2 separate regions of the Homo sapiens genome follow, and region 2 is linked to region 1. The links are contacts of gene promoters, found by promoter capture Hi-C in blood cells and fetal thymus (Javierre and others, 2016). All regions are on one chromosome and are shown on one strand. The core of a region is centred on a gene start or on the middle of the fragment in contact, and the rest is flanking DNA. Distances in the headings are between cores, read along the strand shown.

Evidence for each region. The method cuts DNA at HindIII sites, captures the fragments that hold promoters and counts their contacts. A CHiCAGO score of 5 or more calls a contact.
Region 2: a contact is called between a fragment that was not itself captured here and the fragment with the promoter of ITGA6-AS1 in region 1, in 2 of 17 cell types (megakaryocytes and M0 macrophages). The highest score is 7.8, in megakaryocytes.

Annotation. Positions count from the first base shown.
Region 1 is chr2:172,461,243-172,467,280 of GRCh38, forward strand. ITGA6-AS1 (ITGA6 and PDK1 antisense RNA 1) reads right to left here and starts at 4,780. Exons shown (of 2, transcript NR_157573.1): 1 at 4,582-4,780; 2 at 3,020-3,332. It overlaps ITGA6 (integrin subunit alpha 6), which reads left to right. Exons shown (of 26, transcript NM_000210.4): 2 at 4,297-4,421. PDK1-AS1 (PDK1 and ITGA6 antisense RNA 1) reads right to left here. Exons shown (of 4, transcript NR_199657.1): 4 at 3,024-3,332. RefSeq lists an enhancer at 5,021-5,190. The HindIII fragment of the contact is 13,641 bases long and covers 1-6,038 here.
Region 2 is chr2:172,144,074-172,149,882 of GRCh38, forward strand. It overlaps LOC105373741 (a long non-coding RNA gene), which reads left to right. Exons shown (of 3, transcript XR_923580.2): 2 at 778-903. Among named protein-coding and RNA genes, the nearest start is that of DLX2-DT, 44 kb to the left of the region's middle. The HindIII fragment of the contact is 2,790 bases long and covers 1,080-3,869 here.

The DNA.
Region 1 (6,038 bases), core at 3,530-6,029:
TTCTTATCGTTAAAGATGATTTTGTGGTTTTGAGTTTTGCCTTTTAAGTGTGGGTTTCTGATATGCTGAAATCCCAAGGCAGTTTTTATTTCGGTGCAGCTTTAAAATTCAGTGGAGGTCATTGTCCACTGGCCGGTTTTGAAATGATCTTAGTTCACACCCAGATTCTTGCCCTTTGTTTAGTTTTTCTTGCCTTGACCGCATATGGGAATAGACCTCTCAGGCTCTGCTCTGTTAATTTCTATCACCTCCCTACAAAGGCCCTAACTCATATCCCTTGGTCCCTGTGGCTCTGAAGGTCGAGTTGTCACATAGCTCTTTCCTCCTTCAAACGTACTGGGATGGTCAGTAATGAGTGCTGCAGCTGCCCTGGTCCTAGGAGTTGCTGTGAGCATCCTGGTAGTGCCCAGAGAGTACCTGCTTTTCACACTGAACCATCTGGGTGGCCTGGGCCCAGTTTTTGGCATTTAAGGGCCTTGGAGGGAAAGGGAAGAAAGCTGGAATTTGAGCATAAATTGGATTTTGTGTGGGCTGAGGGTCCTCCTAGGTGTAGACTGTCCCTCCTGGACCTGTACCCACTCTGCTAGCTCAGGAGCCAACCATGTCCTGAACAGCTTAGACCAGCACCCAGACCCTAAATGACCTAGATTAGGAAGTAGATAGGTTGTTCTCTGCTGTCATTGTTTGGACACAGCTCTATTTACCTTATTTATTGTTCCTGCTAGGCACAGCCTCAGCTAATGGGCTGTGATCTCCTGCCTTTAAGGCTGGTTCCAGGCGAATTAAGAGCCTTTGCTTGTTTCCCAAACCAGGGAGGGCAGCTTTACCTTGAGGATGAAGGCGCCTCCAGTTGCTGAATGTGGTTGGGGTTACTGTGTTCTCTCATCAAGGTGTAGCTTTACCTTACCTTTCGGTGATGGGTTCTGCCACCTTATCGCGGTGGGTCCCAGGAGACCGGGCGCAACTGGAGCAGGGGCGCCCTCTGCTGCTGGGTGTCAGCTCTTCCTCCCACGGCTGCCCAGGGGATTTGCAAGGGGCGGTGGAACACTCCTGCTTCCTCCATCCCCTGTGGGACCACCTGAGGTGGAGGAAGGACAGTGCCAGGACCATGTGCAGGCTGAGCTCGCCCAGAGGCGGTGCAACAGCTAACGTTATTCTCTGTGGGTACATTTCTCTTGTCGTTTGCAGGTCTCTTTTCGAATCTGTTGTCCTTTTTCCCCAAACCAGCCTGCTGCCCCCATCCTGCCATGTGGTCTGCTGTCATCTGCAGTAGCCGCCGCATGTAAGACACGAGGACCTCTTCTGCAAGAGCTTGGTGTGGGCATTTGTGAAATTTTGTCACCACAGCCCCTGTAACCAGCCAACAAATTCGAGTTAAATGCCTATTCTTTGTCCCACACGTATTAGTTACAGAGAGTGGAGAACAAGTGGCAGATAGAGGCTGAGGGAAGCCAACCCACTCTGAGGGACTGGGCATGTAAATGGGACAACCTCCACAGCTTTTTAAACCACAGGACACCCAAAAGCAGCTGTACCCTGCAGGACACAGCAGGCTACAGAAGCCTGGGGTTCAGAGGGTCTCTGACCCTTCGTCCTTTAGCGCTGCTGACCAGGCTGCTGATCCTCGACCCCTTCTTGTCACCCATTGTGTCCCTCTTCTCCCTTTTCTCTGGCTCCTTCCCTTGCAGCCTTTGCATATGCTGTGTTCCTTACCTGGCCACCTCCAGTCCCGCTGTCATCTCTTAGTGACATCCTCCCTTCCTCTCCAGCAGGTGCTGGTGCCCACAGCACTCTGTACCATCCTCTCATTGCCTCTAGCTCCCTGTGGTTTCATGACCTCATGACCTGTTCACGGATCAGGCTTCCCCAGGCCAGAGATTGAGGAGTGGGGGCAATTCCTTATTCATCCTAGGAGGCTCTTAATCAGCGTTTGTTGAGTGAATAGGTGAACGAATGTGGGAATGGGATAAACAGGAAATAAGCCCTGTGCCTGCCTTAGGTAACTTAGTAGCCACCTTGGGTGTGGGTGAGAAGAGGAAGTGGTTAGGAAGACACACAGTTAAGACAATGGGACTCCTGTGCTGCTTTTTCTAGGCTTCTCTTTGCTGGTGGTTACCTTTACAGGAAATCTCTTACCCAGCCTTCACTCCACCCAACTGCAATAATGCTTTTCTTCCTTCCCCTCTACTTGGCTCTATTATCTTAACTTTTATCAGCATACAGAACAGTTTTGGTTGTGATGTTTTATTTGTGTAAGTTTTGCCCTTTCAACTAGGTTGTAAACTTGAAATCCTGGGTTTTACTTCCTAAGCAGCTTTGTAAAGAAATGGAGACAACATTGCACCAAGATAATTTTTGTCATGGCCACCCACTAGCTGTGAGATCTTGGGGGATGAGTAATTAAGCTCCTCAAGGCCTCTGTTTCTTTATCTGTAAAACTGGAGGACTGGTCTCTCTCAGGGGCTTCCAGTGTGAAAGTCCTGGGGTTCTGGGCCTCTGATCCTGGCACCCCACTTATCCCTTCCAGCACCCTCCACATGACTCCACCTCTGACATCTGCCAAGTACAGTAATTTAACACATTCACCTTATAGTCTAGGCAGTTCACCTCCCAGGTACTTGTTTGTTGGCATTCCTGGGATCGGGGACATCACTGGAATAGGAGTGGAGCAGACCTGTGGGGACCCTTGTGGCCCCGGCCTTGCCTCTGTCCTCTGTCAAGAAGGTTCAGGCACCAAGGACACTGCTCCAGTTCCTAATTTAAAAGTCTGTGTGTCAGTTCTGTACCTTGGTGTGTGCTGTTTTGTTCCTTCAAATGTAGGGTGGGTTTGGAGGTGGGGGCTGACTGTGACTGTCCAGGGATCTGGGAGGAAGGACAGTGCTGGGGCTATGTGTTATCCATGAGCCACCCCTCCTTCTCTGTCTGGGCATCATCTGGCCCCCCTCCCTGCTTTCCAGGTACACTTGCCTCCGGTGGCACCTGCTGCATGATATTGGTTTAAAAAAAATATGTTGAATCCTTTATTGGAATGATTCCTTTATTGGGACCCAACAGGCATGAAGGTAATAGAGACTATTTGGTTTGTATTTTCATTTGTTTTGCTTTTGCTTCTGAGATTTGTGGGTTTCTTGATGGCCAGGAGTGGCTTGTTTTCTGTTGTAAGAATTTGTTGTTTGTACAGGTTCGTGTTCCCAGTCCTTTTCCTCAGCTCCAGCCTTGTTTCCAAAACTCTCAGCTCTTGGTTTATCTCTGTCCAGTCAGGTGTGTGTTCTTTGTCTTTGTTTCTTGTCCTAGTTGTTCCATGAGTCAGCCAGGCCTCAAAGATTGTAAACCTGATGGTGAGTAAAGGTGTTAGCAAAAGAGACCTAGCAACAAGGTCATTGGATCTCTAAAGAGCCTGTCAAGCTGTGAGATGGTGAAATTTTAAGGACTGTGGATTTGGACTGGGGGCCTCCTTATAGGAGATAAAAACACTCGGCTGGGGAGAAGAAGGAATATTACAGTGCCTAGTACATAAGTGGAGCTACACCAGTTGTCCCTGAATCCTTTGTGGGAGACTGATAGGATGAGAGAGGACGAACTCTTGTAATGTGACAAAAGTGCAAGGAAGTAAGAACTGACTTGGAAGAACAAACATCAACTTGTACACCTCAAATATATCTGCTTTTTATTTGTCCATTCTACCCTAATAAAACTGGAGGGAAAAAAAAAAAAGAATTGGAAAGAGGCCAAGGCTGCAAGTGAATAATTCAGTCGAGTTGTATCTTACTTACCATTAGGTTCTCTCAATTAGTATATAAACTGAAAATCTAAGATATAGTCAGAATTACCCTTGAAAACTACCTCAGGAAGGCACAGTGTTAGAAACTGACATATTATTGCTTATTACATTTAGTGTGGCCATTTTTTCCTTCCATTGTCACAAGTATTTGGTTTCTTCTCTTGAGTTTCATATGATATCCCTGGCATCATAGGGGCTTAGAGGTTGTATTCTTTGAAGAGGGTGTCTTTTAAACACCAGATCATACCCAGCAAGAAATGCTGATACTATGAGAGACAGGCCTATTTTCCTCGTTTTGGTATCCCCTCTTTGGCTTCCCCTGTTTAGTTGTGTTTGTGCGTTTTGCATGAACCAGCCATAGGACTCTACATTTGTTCTCACTCACTGCCTAAGCTGTTGAAGAATTAGTGGACTCCTAGACAAAGAATAATCCCACTATCTCCTAGTTCTGACTGATTTAACTGTTAAACGTATATTAAATTCAAATCTCCAAATTGTCTCTGTTTCATCAACAGGTTGCTCGTGGGGGCCCCGCGGGCAGAAGCGCTTCCACTGCAGAGAGCCAACAGAACGGGAGGGCTGTACAGCTGCGACATCACCGCCCGGGGGCCATGCACGCGGATCGAGTTTGATAACGATGGTGCGTTCCTTTCCCTCACTCAGCGTTCACTCCGGCAGCTTGCCTGTACTGTTTCCATGAGGGAGGAGAGTGGGGACAAACATTTATTCTTGTAGAGAGGACTTCTTTTAATTGCATCAGACTTGACTGTTTTTTATTTGCCCTGAAAATATTTACTTACTTTACTTCTGAATCATACTGGGATGCCGCGTGTTTTGCTGCTCCTCCTAACCGTGGTTTCTAAACCGATATGGTGTAGGGATGTTGCCACCTAGTGATGTGTTGAGGTTCTGCAGGAGGTTGTGGAAAAACTCATTTCATAGCAATGAAGAGAATGAATGAGCGTATCTTGTATTCATCAGCCAAAAGTTCTCACATGCTGTTAAAATATTTGGGAGAAAGACAGTTTTAAATATCAGACCCCTTTGGAATGAGAGCTGGCTAACAGAGATAAAGTTTTCCCTCCTGTCTCAGATAGAGACTTGTTTTGTTAAGGGCTCTGGATAGGTAGAAGATACCATGAGGTAGGCATGTTGACATCCAGTGTACCTGGCTTCTTGTAGGTTGAGCAGAGCAATTAGTGTACTGAGAAGCTCTAGCCAAACCTCGTTTGATATGTTCGGTCTAAGTAGATTTGCAGATTCGTGTCTATGTTCTTCTCTTGCTTCTTCATCTTTTAGAAATAACATTTGTTGGCCAGGCGTCGGTGGCTCACACCTGTAATCCTAGCATTTTGGGAGGCCGAGTTGGGTGGATCATTTGAGGTCAGGAGTTCAAGACCAGCCTGGCCAACATGGTGAAACCCCATCTCTACTAAAAATACAAAAATTAGCCAGGCGTGGTGGTGTACGCCTGTAGTCCTAGCTACTTAGGAGGCTGAGGCGTGAGAATTGTTTGAACCTGGGAGGCAGAGGCTGCAGTGAGCCAAAATCGTGCCACTACACTCCAGCCTGGGTGACAGAGCAAGATACCATCTCAAGAAAAGAAATAACATGTGTTCTTTTATTAGAAACTAATATGTGTTAATTTTAAGAAGCTGGTAAAATACACAGACCTATGAAGAATAAAAAAACCCACTGGCAATCTCAGTATCTAGACTTATTTTTTAACATTTTGGCATTTTTCCTTCTGTCTAAAGTTGTTTAATGTTTTTGTAATGATTCAAGATTAAAACCTGTGTCTGTATTGCTACTTATGGAGGAGTGCAAAATTTGGATATAGGTCACACAGTGGGTTTAAATTGATACTGAAATGAGCACCTGGTGGTGTTTGTGGTCCCCGTCTCTCTGACTAACAGTAACTCTCCTGTTTGGCATTGATACATTGTCAGCTACAAGATCCTAAAGTAAATCTGAGTCTTTTTCTTCCATCTCCAGTAAAGAAGAGAACATTTAATGCTGTTAAATAAAAAAATTGGGGAGTATATAGAGAAGTACCCATTTTTTTTGTTAGTTTGGATGGTAGCTGCAGTTTGGAATACTAGATTTTACATTGTTGCCTTAAGAGATGTATTTTGGAGGGCTCCCTTAGTCTTACAGTTTCACTTACCTTCTGCATTCAGGACCCTAGGTATCAAGAGAGGGCAAAGGGTATTGTTGGACAAAATAGGCAACTATATAGAGCTAAGTACTTTATGTT
Region 2 (5,809 bases), core at 1,225-3,724, 320 kb before region 1:
AATTTCTCTTCTCAGTAATCACATCTTTCTTCCATTTTCTATTCATGTAAGCCCCACTTCTCAGTCTTCTCTTAAAGAGTCTAGTCATGTGGTCTCTTTCTCCACTGGCATCTGCCCAACCCTCTGGCATCTTCTATACAAATGCCAAAGCCTCATCTCTCAATGCTGGTCCATGATAGGGCTTTGTCTTGCCTTTCATTTCCTCCCTGGCTTTGGACCAGTCCCTCTGTTCCTTTCCAGCATCTCTGTAGCCTTAATCAGTTGCGCCTCTGATCTGTGCTTGTTACACCTGCAAGCCCAGTCCACGTAATATGCTCTTCCTCCCTAACCTTCAGAAACTCCATCTGCTTCCCTGAGCGATTCCAGCCTTCCCTGAGCAATTTCTCAGGCTACTTCAGCTGGGTTCTCTTGAGGATCAAAATGCTGAAATTTCATGTGCTATTCCTTTCATCTCTTTTGAATATTCCGTTTGGCTTAACTAGGGTGCTGCAGGATCCGACTTGGCCTTCATAACTTCAGAGAGGCCCAGCATCACCCGGTGGACACAGGTAGGGTAGGAACTTCCAGGTGATCTGCCAAGCCTGGTATTGCTCACTCCCTCAGCTCCTCCATGAGCCAGTGGGGGACAGGCCACTATTTTCAGGAAGGAGGAGCAGCTGGGTTTAAGAAAATCCTGTGGATTTAGGAGATATTTATTTCTCCTAATAATATTTGTTAGGAGATATTTATTTATTTATTTATTTAGTGGTTTTAGTGTTTTATTTTTTCTTTTCTCAGGTGGTGGGCCTTTTGATGACAGCTATGGAAAAGTCTTTCCAGAAAAATGCACGTGCACATAAAATTAGAATGTTTCCAAGATACGCATGGACCCTGTGAAACCCACTGAAGATTCCATGGCCCCAGGTTAGAACTCATTTCCCTAGAGCATATTTCATGTTTGTTCTTGGTATTTTTTCTTCTACCTACTTGTCCACTGACTGGTTGGAAAGCATTGTCTTAATGAGATAATCAAATAGACATGAATGATTCTGATGGCCTCCTTGGCTTTTTTTTTTTTTTTTTTTTTAATTTTTAAAGCAAGCTTTGCTTCTCCTTGGGATTTAAAGAATTAGGTAGTGTTCTTTCCCCTACCTCCCAGCCCCCCATCCTCCACCAACCCTATAACTTTAAAATTACAAGGTTCTGTCTTCTGAGTTATTTGGTGGGAATTCTCCTTTGAGTTATACTGAGAGTTCTTCAGTATTGGCTCTTTACTTCTTTCCCACACAACTCAATTTACATCTGGTGGGCTGACTAGGAACAAAGGGACTGATAGTGAAGTGGGATAGCCTAGGAGTTAAGAGAATGGACCCCATAGCCAGGCTGAGGGGAGTTTCTAAATTTAGTGATCTTAAATTGGTGGCTCAAAGGCTGGAGAAGCCAGAGGGTAAGTTTTTTTTGCCTGCCCAGCCTTTCCAAAAGTTAAGTTACCTTGATCTCAATAAAAGAGGTCAACTATTGTCTTATGCTGATCCTCTGAAAACATTTATGCCAATCACCTGCCCAAGGCAATTGAGTTTAGAATTTCACTTGCTCATCTATAAAGGGGGCACACTACCTACCTCAAATAACTCAATGAATTTATGAATGTAAGAACAAAATGAGTTAGCTTGGTTCCTGTAAGTTCTTAACAAATTGTACATTTGATTACTGATAATAATTTTCATTGATGAATGCCTTTGGAAGTGCTTCGAGGGGGATCTGCAAGCATGGGGGTGGAGGCTGGGAGGGAGACAGGATAGACTTGAGGGATATTGAGTCCATTTGAAAATAAAATTAGGCCTGTTTCCTGGGAAAGCCACATGAAGTGGGAGAGATAATTTGGCCCAGAAAACTGAGAAACAGTAGCCTGAAATTGCTGGCACAGAGCTCACAGAAGTCAATGTCAGGAGTTCCGCCAGAAGGAGAATGAATGGTATAGTGCTGCTTCCTGCAGAGGGAGGGAAAGCCTCTGCCAGGCCTCTTTCCCATGGAGTCTCACCTTCAGGTCTTCTGTGCCTGCTGCTCACAGCTGCCCTCTTCCACTGCCCACGCCTTAGATTTCACAGGTGTTTCCAGACATGGAAATGCTTTTGATGGGGCAGCCTCCTCCATAGCCCTGGAAGGTGCGCCTGGGTGCCATGGCCCAGGCCTGGGTGTCTGGAGCTCATTTTTGTCCGTGGCTGGGATGCTTTCTGCCTGGGCTCCCTCGGGCTTCCATGAGCTGACCACCTCATCCTGCATAGTGTTGACCTCTCGTCGACTCAGGTTCTGTTGTTGGTGGAGGGTAAAAAGTATGTTGGGAGAGCCCTGATGGGGCAAGGTGGGCAGATGCTACCTTCTGACTTTGGGTGGCAGAGTGGTGGGGCTCAGCTGGATTTAAGGAGCTCAGGCTCCCATCAGAGCTGCAGGGTCTGGGGGTTGGATTGACACTGGCTTGAGGGCAGGGACTAAAACTTTTAGTGTTGGTACAGGCTAGAGGTTAGGAGTGCAGACCCTGGGCTCAAATCTATTCTGTTGTTTGCAAGCTATGTGACCTTGGGCAAGTCACTTAATCTCCTGGAGACTCAGTTTTCTCATCTGTAAAATGGGAATAATAATAGTATCTACCTCAGAGGATTGCTGTAAAGATTAAATAAATAAGTGAATAAGGACATTTATAAGTGTTAGCTGCAATTAGTAATGATTAGCATAAGGCCAGGGCATGCATTGCTGAGCTGGGCATTAGGGGCAGGCACTGTTCAGGCAGGGCTGGGGGCCAGAATGAAGTTAACCAGGGAATTAAACAGATTTGGGAAAAAGTATTAGGATGGATGAGGTTGGGGTTGGTGCTGGAGTACAGCTTGGCCCAGATTTTCATTGAGGGGTTAGAAGAGCAGGGAGGGAACCTGGTGGAAGCAAAGGCAGCTTCTGTTTTGCCCCCAAACCTTGAACACCAATATGGACACATGTGCAGACTCCTGTCCTTCCCCTCCACTCCCCGCTCTTGCCAGCCAGACCAGGGTCTCTGTAGTCATGGAGAGGGCTAAGAAGCGGGAGGGAGGGCTCTGAGCTATTCCATCATGGGTTGGGATTGGTGGTGGCTGTAGAGCCAGTGCCAGAGGCTGGCTGACAGGTAAGAATCACTGCTGTTGTCATCTGCCTCCCAGGTCTCCTATCCCTAAAGGCTCTCTTATCCCCATAGTTGGGAAAACCCAAGAAAAATCTTGAGAGTAGTCTTAGATCCCCAGGACAGTGAAGATGATGCTGTAGAGGCCAAGGGAAAACTTCCCCTTTACCCTCTGAAGTTTTGCTGAAAAATCGACTCACAGAAGGAGATTAATAAGAGAAATGACATACAAATTTATTAACATGCACATGGGGAAGAACCACAGAGTGATTACCCCAAATCCCAATGGGGTTCAGAAGTTTATATACCCTCTTGAAGGTATAGAAAGAATGGGGGCTTGTATCCTGGCAAAACAGGTTATGGGAGGGGGAGAAGAGAAGCCCTGGCTAGCAAAGATGGTTGTGTTATGCAGGTGAAACCTCACAGGTAGCAGCCCTCAGAGTGGAGAGATGGGTGAATGTTCTTTCAGATCTTTAAATGTGTCAGACTCTCAGTTAATCTCTCCTAGATCTGGACAAAGGAAGGCCTTAGGAGAAAGCCTGGCTGCATCAATGCAGATTCTCTGCAGATGCAAATCTCCCCCCACCTGCAAAAGACAGCTTTGCAGGGCTACTTATGTTTGCAGGCCCTCTGAACAGCCATCTCAAAGTATGCCAAAGAAGTCTGTTTTGGGGTCCAATATTTTTATTTCCTTCAATACCAATCTTCCTCCAGGCAGCTCTGACAGCTCCGACAGCTCCAAAGCTTGGACAGTGGGCTGGGGAGGACATGGCTGTCTAGGGAGGGCCTCTGCCCAGGTGGTGCATCAGGTTCACACACTCAGGTCCTGGTACCATTGTGCCTGGTGAGTGGTTCCCAGTGTTTGTGATCATGGTTTGCATAACCTGCAGGCAGCTAGTGGAGAGCTTGGCTCTGTAAAGAAGGAGAAGTGTGTAGCAGGCGGAGGTCTGAGACTCTAGAAAGGCAGTCTCAGCCTGCTTTGAATCAAATAGCGGGAACAGACAAATTAATTTCCTCTAGCATGGATGGGTGGGTGGACAAAACGAAAGAGCCAGAATTCAGCAGACCTGGTCTCAGGGGCAGGAGAAGAAGTAATTATTTTCATTTCATTTCAATATCCTGTTCACTTCTTATGCTGATTAGGACAAGCCCACAGTTGCTGTCTATTTATTCGTGTAGTACTGCCAGGACTGCCAGCGCTGCCATGGGAATGCACATGTTTATGCCCGGGTGCTCTTGATGTTCTCAGAGCTGCGGGCACTGCCCTAGCCAGAGGACTGCGGATGTGCCGGGGCCCTTGAGGCATCAGCATTGCTTCATGCCCCCCAGAGCCCATGAATCAGAAGAAAGCAGGGGTTGGACAGGCTGCATCGGCTGTGTGTGTGTGTGTTTGTGTGCATTTAATAGAGGCAAAGGAATGCTCTTGCATTGTGGTTTAGGGACGAAAAGGAAACTTCTTTGAGGACTAACCATCTTGGTGTTGTTAAAACTTACATTATTACATTAGGATTATTTTAAGTGGTCTGTAATAAGGTAAAGTGAAAGGAAATGAGCAGATGAGAATCTTTCTGGGCTCTAGTTGTGAAAATCAGAATGAGAAACACCAGAGGTCTGTTTCTTAGAATCATGAATAGATTATGGAACACCCACCATCACCATTATCGTTTGATGTTTTTCCCAGTTTGCAGCTAGTGACAGCAATTAAAGATGAAACAGAAATGAGATTTAGAACTTTGGAAAGGAAAAGACAAAATTTTATTTTTGCAGATGATACGATTTTATATCTAGCCTACTAAAAGAAATTCAAGGCTGGGCGCAGTGGCTCACGCCGGTAATCCCAGCACTTTGGGAAGCCGAGGCGGGCAGATCACAAGATCAGGAGTTCGAGACCAGCCTGGCCAATATGGTGAAACCCCGTCTCTACTAAAAACACAAAAAATTAGCTGGGCGTGGTAGCGGAAGCCTGTAGTCCCAGCTACTCAGGAGGCTGAGGCAGGAGAATCGCTTGAACCCAAGAAGCGGAGGTTGCAGTGAGCCGAGATCGCACCTCTGCACTCCAGCCTGGGCGACAGAGCAAGACTCCCTCTCAAAAAAAAAAAAAAAAAAAAAAAAATCAAGCAAAATGAAACTCCAACTATTGGATTTTTTTTTTTTTAAGGGGGAGTCTCACTCTGTCGCCCAGGCTGGAGTGCAGTGGCGCGATCTCGGCTCACTGCAAGCTCCGCCTCCCAGTTTCACGCCATTTTCCTGCCTCAGCCTCCCGAGTAGCTGGGACTACAGGCTCCCGCCACCATGCTCGGCTAATTTTTTTTTTTTTTTGTATTTTTGGTAGAGACGGGGTTTCACCGTGTTAGCCAGGATAGTCTTGATCTCCTGACCTCGTGATCCACCCGCCTTGGCCTCCCAAAGTGCTGGGATTACAGGCATGAGCCACCGTACCCGGCCCAACTATTGGATTTTTTAAAAAGAAACAGGATCCTACTCTGTTGCCCAGGCTGGAGTGCAGTGGCATGACCATAGCTTACTTCAGCCTCCCAGGCTCAAGCGATCCTTCCTCCTCTGCCTCTCAAATTTCTGGGATTACAGGTGTGAGCCACAGTGCCTGGCCCCAACTATTGCATTTAATGAGAGTTGAGTGTGTTGGCTGCAAGCAGGATATATTCAAATAAAAATATTTTCCAT